2 separate regions of the Homo sapiens genome follow, and region 1 is linked to region 2. Evidence: promoter capture Hi-C in 16 types of primary human blood cells and fetal thymus (Javierre and others, 2016). All regions are on one chromosome and are shown on one strand. Each heading gives the region's core, a stretch centred on a gene start or on the middle of the fragment in contact. The rest is flanking DNA. Distances are from core to core; before and after follow the strand shown. Region 1 has its middle 3.7 kb from the start of CCDC43. Region 2 holds the start of GPATCH8 (G-patch domain containing 8).

Evidence for each region. The method cuts DNA at HindIII sites, captures the fragments that hold promoters and counts their contacts. A CHiCAGO score of 5 or more calls a contact.
Region 1: a contact is called between a fragment that was not itself captured here and the fragment with the promoter of GPATCH8 in region 2, in 1 of 17 cell types (megakaryocytes). The highest score is 5.3, in megakaryocytes.

What each region holds. Positions count from the first base shown.
Region 1 is chr17:44,691,561-44,695,487 of GRCh38, reverse strand. No RefSeq gene overlaps it. Among named protein-coding and RNA genes, the nearest start is that of CCDC43, 3.7 kb to the right of the region's middle. The HindIII fragment of the contact is 1,042 bases long and covers 1,061-2,102 here.
Region 2 is chr17:44,501,565-44,505,613 of GRCh38, reverse strand. It overlaps GPATCH8 (G-patch domain containing 8), which reads left to right and starts at 2,208. Exons shown (of 8, transcript NM_001002909.4): 1 at 2,208-2,288. The coding sequence starts at 2,244. RefSeq lists a silencer at 1,925-2,274 and an enhancer at 2,375-2,474. The HindIII fragment of the contact is 9,778 bases long and covers 1-3,022 here.

The sequences.
Region 1 (3,927 bases), core at 332-2,831, 190 kb before region 2:
AATTTTTGTAGCTTTAGTAGAGATGGGGTTTCACCATGTTGGTGAGGCTTGTCTCAAACTCTTGACCTCAGCTGATCCACCCGCCTAGGCCTCCCAAAGTGCTGGGATTACAGGCATGAGCGACTGCGCCCGGCCCAACATGGGTAAATATTTTAAACAACCTTGAGTGAAAAAGCACATTGCAGAATGAAAAGTACAGCATGCACACCAATGTGATATATTATGGATACATCCATATGTTGTAATATGTATTATATATGTAGCAATGTGTACTATGTTTAAAAACATTCAAGAAGAAAATAAACACCAAATTCAGGAATAGTGGTTACATCTGGGGAGAGAGGGGAGAAAATGAGGTTGGAGAAAGGGCTTCAAATTTGCTTTCTTTTACAAAAAGATACAAAGTAAATAAATATAACAGTTCAAAACCAGTCTCCTTCAGTTCTCCTCCTCAGTGGACAACCATTCTCACATATCCCTGGTGTATCTTTCCAGAGATAGCCTATGCACATACAAGGACACATATGTACATGTATTCCCCTACCCTAACTTCTTTTTAAATAGTGATGGTGGCAAGCATTACATATTGTTGATCTGTACTTTTTAAACAATGTATCTCGAACTTTGATACATGTCAGTGCATAAAGAGCTTCTTTGTTCTTTTTTTTTTTTTTTTTTCGAGACGGAGTCTTGCTCTGTAGCCCAGGCTGGAGAGCAATGGCATGATCTCCTCTCACTGCAACCTCTGCCTCCTGGATTCAAGCGATTCTCCTGCCTCAGCCTCCCGAGTAGCTGGGATTACAGGTGCTTACCACCATGCCCAGCTAATTTTTGTATTTTTAGTTGGCCAGGCTGGTCTCGAACTCTTGACCTCAGGTGATCCACCTGCTTTGGCCTCCCAAAGTGCTGGGACTACAGGCACCAGCCACCGCGCCCGGCCTCTTTGTTCATTTTTTTTTTTTTTTTTACAGCTGTGCAATACTTCTTTGTGTGGCTACCAGAGTTTTTGAACCAGTCTCATATACATAAAATGTAGACTATTCTTTTACTACAAAAAGCTTCACTACAATGAATATCCTTAGAAAAATGTGATTCTACACAAATGCACAGTTTTATTTTTTAAAGACAGAGTTTTGTTCTGTTGTTCAGGCTAGAATGCAGTGGCATCATCATAGCTCATGTAAATTTGAGCTCCTGGGCTCAAGTGATCCTCTTGCCTCAACCTCCTGAGTAGGTAGGACAAAAGACATGCACCACCACTTTTTTTTTTTGTAGAGCTGGGGTCTCATTATGTTGACCAGGTTAGTCTCGAACTCCTGGCCTCAAGCAATCCTCCCTTGTCAGCCTCCCAAAGTACTGGGATTACAGGTGTAAGCCAGTGTGCCTGGCCATTATACAAAATATTAAATCAAAATTTTTTTCTTTTTTTGAGACAGAGTCTCACTCTGTTGCCCAGGCTGGAATGCAGTGGCATTATCTCAACTCACTGCAACCTCCGTGTCCCGAATTCGAGTGAATCTCCTGCCTCAGCTTCTCAAGTGGCCAAGTAGCTGGGACTATAGGCATGCATTACCACACCTGGCTAATTTTTATATTTTTAGTAGAGACAGGGTTTTGCCATGTTGGCTAGACTGGTCTTGAACTCCTGACCTCAGTGATCCACCCACCTTGGCCTCCCTAAGTGCGGGGATTACAGGCGTGAGCCACCGCGCCCAGCCAACCACGCCCAGTTTAAACCACGCCCAGTTTAAACAGGCACCACGCCCAGTTTAAACCAAAAATTTTAAAAATAATTAATACTTAACACTATTAAATCGTATACTTAAAAATAGTTAAGATGGCAAATTGTGTATTTTACCACAAGTAAAGATAAAAATAAATGAATAACTTATGAACAAATTCCCAGAAGCAGAAATGCTGGGTCTTTTCAAACAAACAGTCCTCCAACAAGACCAGATCCATTTACTTTCTGCTCTAACATTTTCCAATGTCTTTTACCCAAGCACAGTTCAATACAGCATATTATCAGACTTTTTTGATCTGAAAAGCGGACGTGGTATTTCACTGCAATCTTAATTTGCGTATTTTATTTTTTGTAAGCTTTCAATTTGTCGCTTATCCATTTATATAATTTTTTCTTTTTTTTTGTTGAGACAGAGTTTTGCCCTTGTTGCCCAGGTTGGAGTACAATGGCGTAATCTCAGCTCACTGTAACCTCCGCCTCCTGGTTTCAAGCAATTCTCCTGCCTCAGCCTCCCAAGTAACTGGGATTACATGCGCCTACCACCATAGCTGGCTAATTTTTTTGTTTTTTTTGTTTTTTTTTGAGATGGAGTCTCACTCTGTTGCCCAGGCTGGAGAGCAGTGGTCAGATCTCGGCTCACTGCAAGCTCTGCCTCCCGGATTCGCGCCATTCTCCTGCTTCAGCCTCCCTAGTAGCTGGGACTATAGGCGCCCGCAACCACACCCAGTTAATTTTTTTTTGTATTTTTAGTAGAGACGGGGTTTCACCTATTATCCAGGATGGTCTCGATCTCCTGACCTCGTGATCTGCCCGCCTCGGCCTCCCAAAGTGCTGGGATTACAGGTGTGAGCCACCGCGCAGGGCCATTTTTTTGTATTTTTTTAGTAGAGATGGGGTTTCACCAGTTGGCCAGGCTGGTCTCGAACTCCCGACCTCAGTTGATCTACCCGCGTTGGCCTTCCAAAGTGCTGGGATTACAGGCGTGAGCCACCGTGCTTGGCCTTATATAATATTTTTTAAAGCATGAGCTATGTTACTTTTGTAGTAAAATAGCCATTGAGGATATTCTTAAAATTTAGGGTCTGGAGAACCTTGATTCAGTTTTTGAGAAGCTTGTTGATGCTTTCAAAAAACCTTATTGCATTATGGCCAGGAGCAGTGTCTCATGCCTGTAATCCCAGCGCTTTGGGATGCCGAAGCAGGTGCATCACCTGAGATCAGCAGTTTGAGACCAGCTTGGCCAACATGGCAAAACCCTATCTCTACTAAAAATAGGAAAAAAATTAGCCGGGTGTGGTGCTGGGTGCCTGTAATCCCAGCTACATGGAAGGGTGAGGCAGGAGAATTGCTTGAACCCAGGAGACGGAGGTTGTAGTGAGCTGAGATCATACCACTGCACTCCAGTCTGGACGACAACCGTGAGACTCCACCTCAAAACAAAAACCAAAAAAACCTTATTGCATAATACCTATATCAATTTCCTGATTTACTATTATACTGTCTTTATGTTTGATGTTACTATTGGGGGAAACTGGGTGAAGGTGTGCAGGACTCTATGTACTATTTTTGAAACTTCTTGTGAGGCTGTATTTCTAAAAAACAAAATTTTGTGATGTTTTTCTGGTTTGGGGGCTCTGCACTGACCAGCTATCATCCTTGAGCCATGATGGCACCCAGGTCTGTGAACTGACAAGCCCTACCTGCAAGACAGCTACTAGATTAGAAAGAATAACTGAGGACTTGAAAAAGAGGCAAGCCTTTGGAGGCTGACTCTGGCCTCTGACTCTGTTAGTGTCACATTCTATCTAACTCAGCGAGCACACAGAAGCCACGCAACTAAAATTCACACTCTGCCATATTTCTTACATTTGTATCTGTGCCATTCATTTAGTGTCCATTCATTTACATAATCCCAATGCCACTAAGGGTAGACCTCTGCAATAAGAGGACCTCTGCAAGGTATACAAACTCCTTTCCTTCTTTTTTTGTTGTTATCCCCTGAATATCTTCTATTTGAATCCTGTAGCTCAAGCCATACATGACTCTCTGGAGGCCCCCTAGCAAGCCTTTGAATTCACAGTTCCCCTGCATCTGGATCTACCCCCTTTTTCCCTCCAGTCCCTTTATGTAAAGAACTCCTACCATTCTTCAAGAAAGTTCAAGCATCATCTCCACTGGGAAGC
Region 2 (4,049 bases), core at 959-3,458:
GCTTTACCATATCCTCCCATTTTCAGCATGGTTGCTCCTTCTCACCTATAAAGTCCAGTCTCTCTGGTTCAGCCTTTCCAGAGGGAAAACCTCTAGTTTGCTACCTGGGTGGGAAAAGAGACATCGAATCATCAGTGGCACCAGGGGCTTCTACTTCCTGAGCCTTTCTGGTGCACTTTAGCATTGATCAACTTCTTTCCTGTCTTCTCCTACTCTATGACTTCTTTTTCTCCACTCTACTAAAGTCATTTCCATTTATCTGTGCTCTCTGGCCTCCAAAATGTTGACATCTGTTGTCTGCCATTGTCTCTTCTCCAGGTCTCTTTGTCCATGTGAATTTATGCACTTCTTATTCCTCTGCTGTCATTTCAGTGGGCTTTTGAGAGGAAGAAGAGGTCAGTGTGATGTGTATCCTCGTGATTCAATCTTTCACGCTACCCTTAAGTCTCTTTACAATGTTTGAGCCAGGCTCGGTGGCTCACGCCTGTAATCTCAGCACTTTGGGAGGCTGAGGCGGGCGGATCACAAGGTCAGGAGTTCCAGACCAGCCTTGCCAACATGGTGAACCCCGCCTCCACTAAAAATACAAAAAAAAAAAAAAAAAAAAAAGTCCGGGCGAGGTGGCTCACGCCTGTAATTCCAGCATTTTGGGAGGCCGAGGCAGGCGGATCACGAGGTCAGGAGATCGAGACCAGCCTGGCTAACACGGTGAAACCCCGTCTCTACTAAAAATACAAAAAATTAGCCGGGCTTGGTGGCGGGCGCCTGTAGTCCCAGCTACTCGGGAGGCTGAGGCAGGAGAATGGCGTGAACCCGGAAGGCGGAGCTTGCAGTGAGCCGAGATCGCGCCACTGCACTCCAGCCTGGGCGACAGAGTGAGACTCCTTTTCAAAAAAAAAAAAAAACAAATGAGCTGGGCTTAGTGGTGGGCGCCTGTAATCCCAGCTACTAGGGTGGCTGAGGCAGGAGAATCTCTTGAACCTGGGAGGCGGAGGTTGCAGTGAGCCGAGATTGCGCCACTGTACTCCGGCGACAGTGCGAGACTCCGTCTCAAAAAAAAAAAAAAAAAAAGAATACAATGTTTGAATTCTGTGTGCCCTGCCTCCCCTTAGATGGAAGCGTAGGCTGAAGCATGGGTGGGGCAAAGGGTAACAGCTAGAAAATACACACCCTTCCTCAAAAAATTACATTCCATTTGACTCTTTCAGGGCAGGGTAAGACCCATTTTTCCATTGTGTGATTTCTGTCAACTACTCTTTTCAAAAGGAGAGAAGTCCTGCCACCCTTCTATGTGTTTTATGTATTTTGGCTAAGAGTCCTGGAGCACTGGGTGAGGTCCTCAGAAGGGATGGAAAAATCCGATTCTTGACTCTCATAGTCAGCGCTAGGCAGGAGCATCAGAGATTACTGAATCCAATTTCCCTATTGTATAAAAAGGAAACTGAAGCCCAGAGAGCTTTAGTCGATCTGGATCAACTTCGGTCCCTTGTGAAATACTTCTCTCAAAGGATGGCTCGAAGTCAAGCTCCTTGCAGTCTTTGGGCCTTTGGGTCTAACGTTCCCTATGCCCCAATGCTGTAGGCTCCTCGCTGTGCCTCGGTCAAAGGTCCTTTCAGAGACTGTCCCTCTCAGCACTGTGGCCAGTTTTACTTTTTTGTGGCACTTGTTGATATTTAAAAATATTTATTTTACGAGTTATGTGAGTTCTTCCACTGGAATGAAATCCCCATAAGAGGAGATCATTCCTGTCTCGTTCACCGTTGAATCCTCAGGGTGAGCTGAGATTCGAAGCTAAGCAGTCTGGCTCTAAGGTCGCGCTTTCGGCCCAACATTATGCTGCTATTTAGTGAAGACGATGGACTTCTGCGCACACGGGGAAGCAACAGTGAGAAAAGACACCCGGAAGTGAGCAACAGCAAAACATCCAGATTTGTCCGCACGGTGCCCCCTCTGACCTTTCCCTCCGGAAGCTCTCGCGGCTCTCGGGCGGGAGTGCGCACGCGCGGCCACCGGGGTCGCTCCGGGTCGCGCGCGGAGCAGGGGCTAGAGGGAAGGGTCAGCCTCCAGGGCTGGCAGGCGCCTGCGCCGCGGGGCTCCCGTCAGGACGCGCATTCTCGCTCCCTCCCTCGGCTGCGCGCGCCCGGTGGGCGTGGGAGGAGGCGGGGAACCGGGGAGGGGTGGGTGTCGCAGGAGGGAAGGAGCGAACCGGAGAGCGTCGTCCTGAGAGGAGTGAAGGCGGCAAAATGGCGGACCGCTTCTCCCGCTTCAACGAAGACCGAGACTTTCAGGTAAACACGGGCGTCGCCGAGGATGCGGGGAAGGCGCTGGTCTAGCCCAGAACCTCCTTCATCTCCGGCTCCCAGCCCTCTTTCCTTCCAGTTTTGCTCCGACTTGCGAACCAGCTCGCTCTTCTCCCGTCTCTGCTTTCTCAAGAGGCCTCCCGGCTTGAGGGAGGCCGCATCTCCTCGCACCCGCATTCTCTTACCCCTGAAACTCAGGCCGCGGGGCTTGCGGCTTCCGCCTGTTTGGCATCGGATTTCGGAACCGGGCCTGAGCGCCGTGTGAGGGGCTGTGCCCTCCAGGTCTGCCCGATCTGTGCCGGCGAAGGGCTGGCTCCCAGGGGACAAGAGGGGTGGTTGGGTTGGGCTGAGAGGGCTTGGGGGAGAGTATTGCTGAGGCCAAGGCTTCCGAACCCCGGGATTTTGCTCTCACGGATCCTTTTGGGGTCCTTCTCTTTTCTTTCTTCACTGTGATAAATCAATTCCTTTCATTGTCTGCTTTTCCTCTTCCTTACCTGGGAAAAGGTTGCCTTCGCTATCAGACGCCTTATTGGTTAGTCATACATTGAGATTTCGCGGGGCATAAGTGTTGCTGTTATTAGGCTGTTAATTGGGCTTGGAAAGCAGTAAGTTACTGGACTATGATCCGATGTGAGCCTAACCTCAAATCCTATCTCGAAAGATTTGTGAGAAGCGTGATGATAATAGGCCGTCCACGCATGGGGTCACTAGTGCCAAAAGCTTGATTTTTCTTTCTTCAATTGCAAATGTTAGTATGGAAAAATGCCCTTACGATGGCAAGCTCTATTGAGTAAAAAATAAAGGCCAAATTAGAATAACTTGTTTTTTCGCTGTTGAAAATACCTTTCTGTTGAAATTGTTACCGCGGAAATCTCGAAGACTAAAAGGGATTTAGTAGAGATTGGCTATTTCTAGGTAAAATACATCCGTAGAGTCTCAAAAAAAAAAAAAAAACACTGCATTACTACCGCATATCCTGGCAACTGCAATTTGGGTCGGGATGAATCTCAGAACTCAAGTTTTTATCCCGCTGCAGATCCTACTCAAAGCAGTACGAAAGCACTCTAGATGTGTTTCAGAAGGCAGTTTAAAGAGTTTGAATTCCCTGAGATGATAGGATTGGTAAATAAATAGGTAAAGCAGTTTAACAATTTTAACTCAGCACTGTTAACAGTCTAGTACATAGAACGCTTATGAGAAGTTTTGCAGCAGTAAGGGATCTGGGGGCTGTTAAAAAGCCTTGTGATCATGCGCCTGCTGTATAGCTGCAGCACAATACAGGAGAGTCTCAGGATGTTCTAAGGATATAATGCAGATTCACCAAAGTTTGAAGCAGTTCATGTTAGCCTTTTGATCCCTGAGAAATATATATATATACACACATATATATATATTAGCAAGCACTATAAAATATGAGTTGGCTGCAAGGTGTATGAGCTTTATTGATTTTTAAATTACCGGTAGAGACATACTGATAACTAAAGCCCGCAAATGCTTTTCAGAGGAGAGAATAATCTCAAGGTGACCTAATAAAATCGAAAATAGATAATATGGACAGTTAAGTTTTGAGGGAAGATGACTGTCAACCACAGAATTCCAGCAGGCTTAGCAAACAGGATTTTCAGGGCCTTTAATGAAGATTTTGAAAATTGTGGATAGCAGAGTGTGAATGCTGTTTCCTGAAAAACATTCAGGGGGTTAGCCTGTACTTTTTCAATACTCAGTTTCCAAGTAAGATGACCCTGTCTT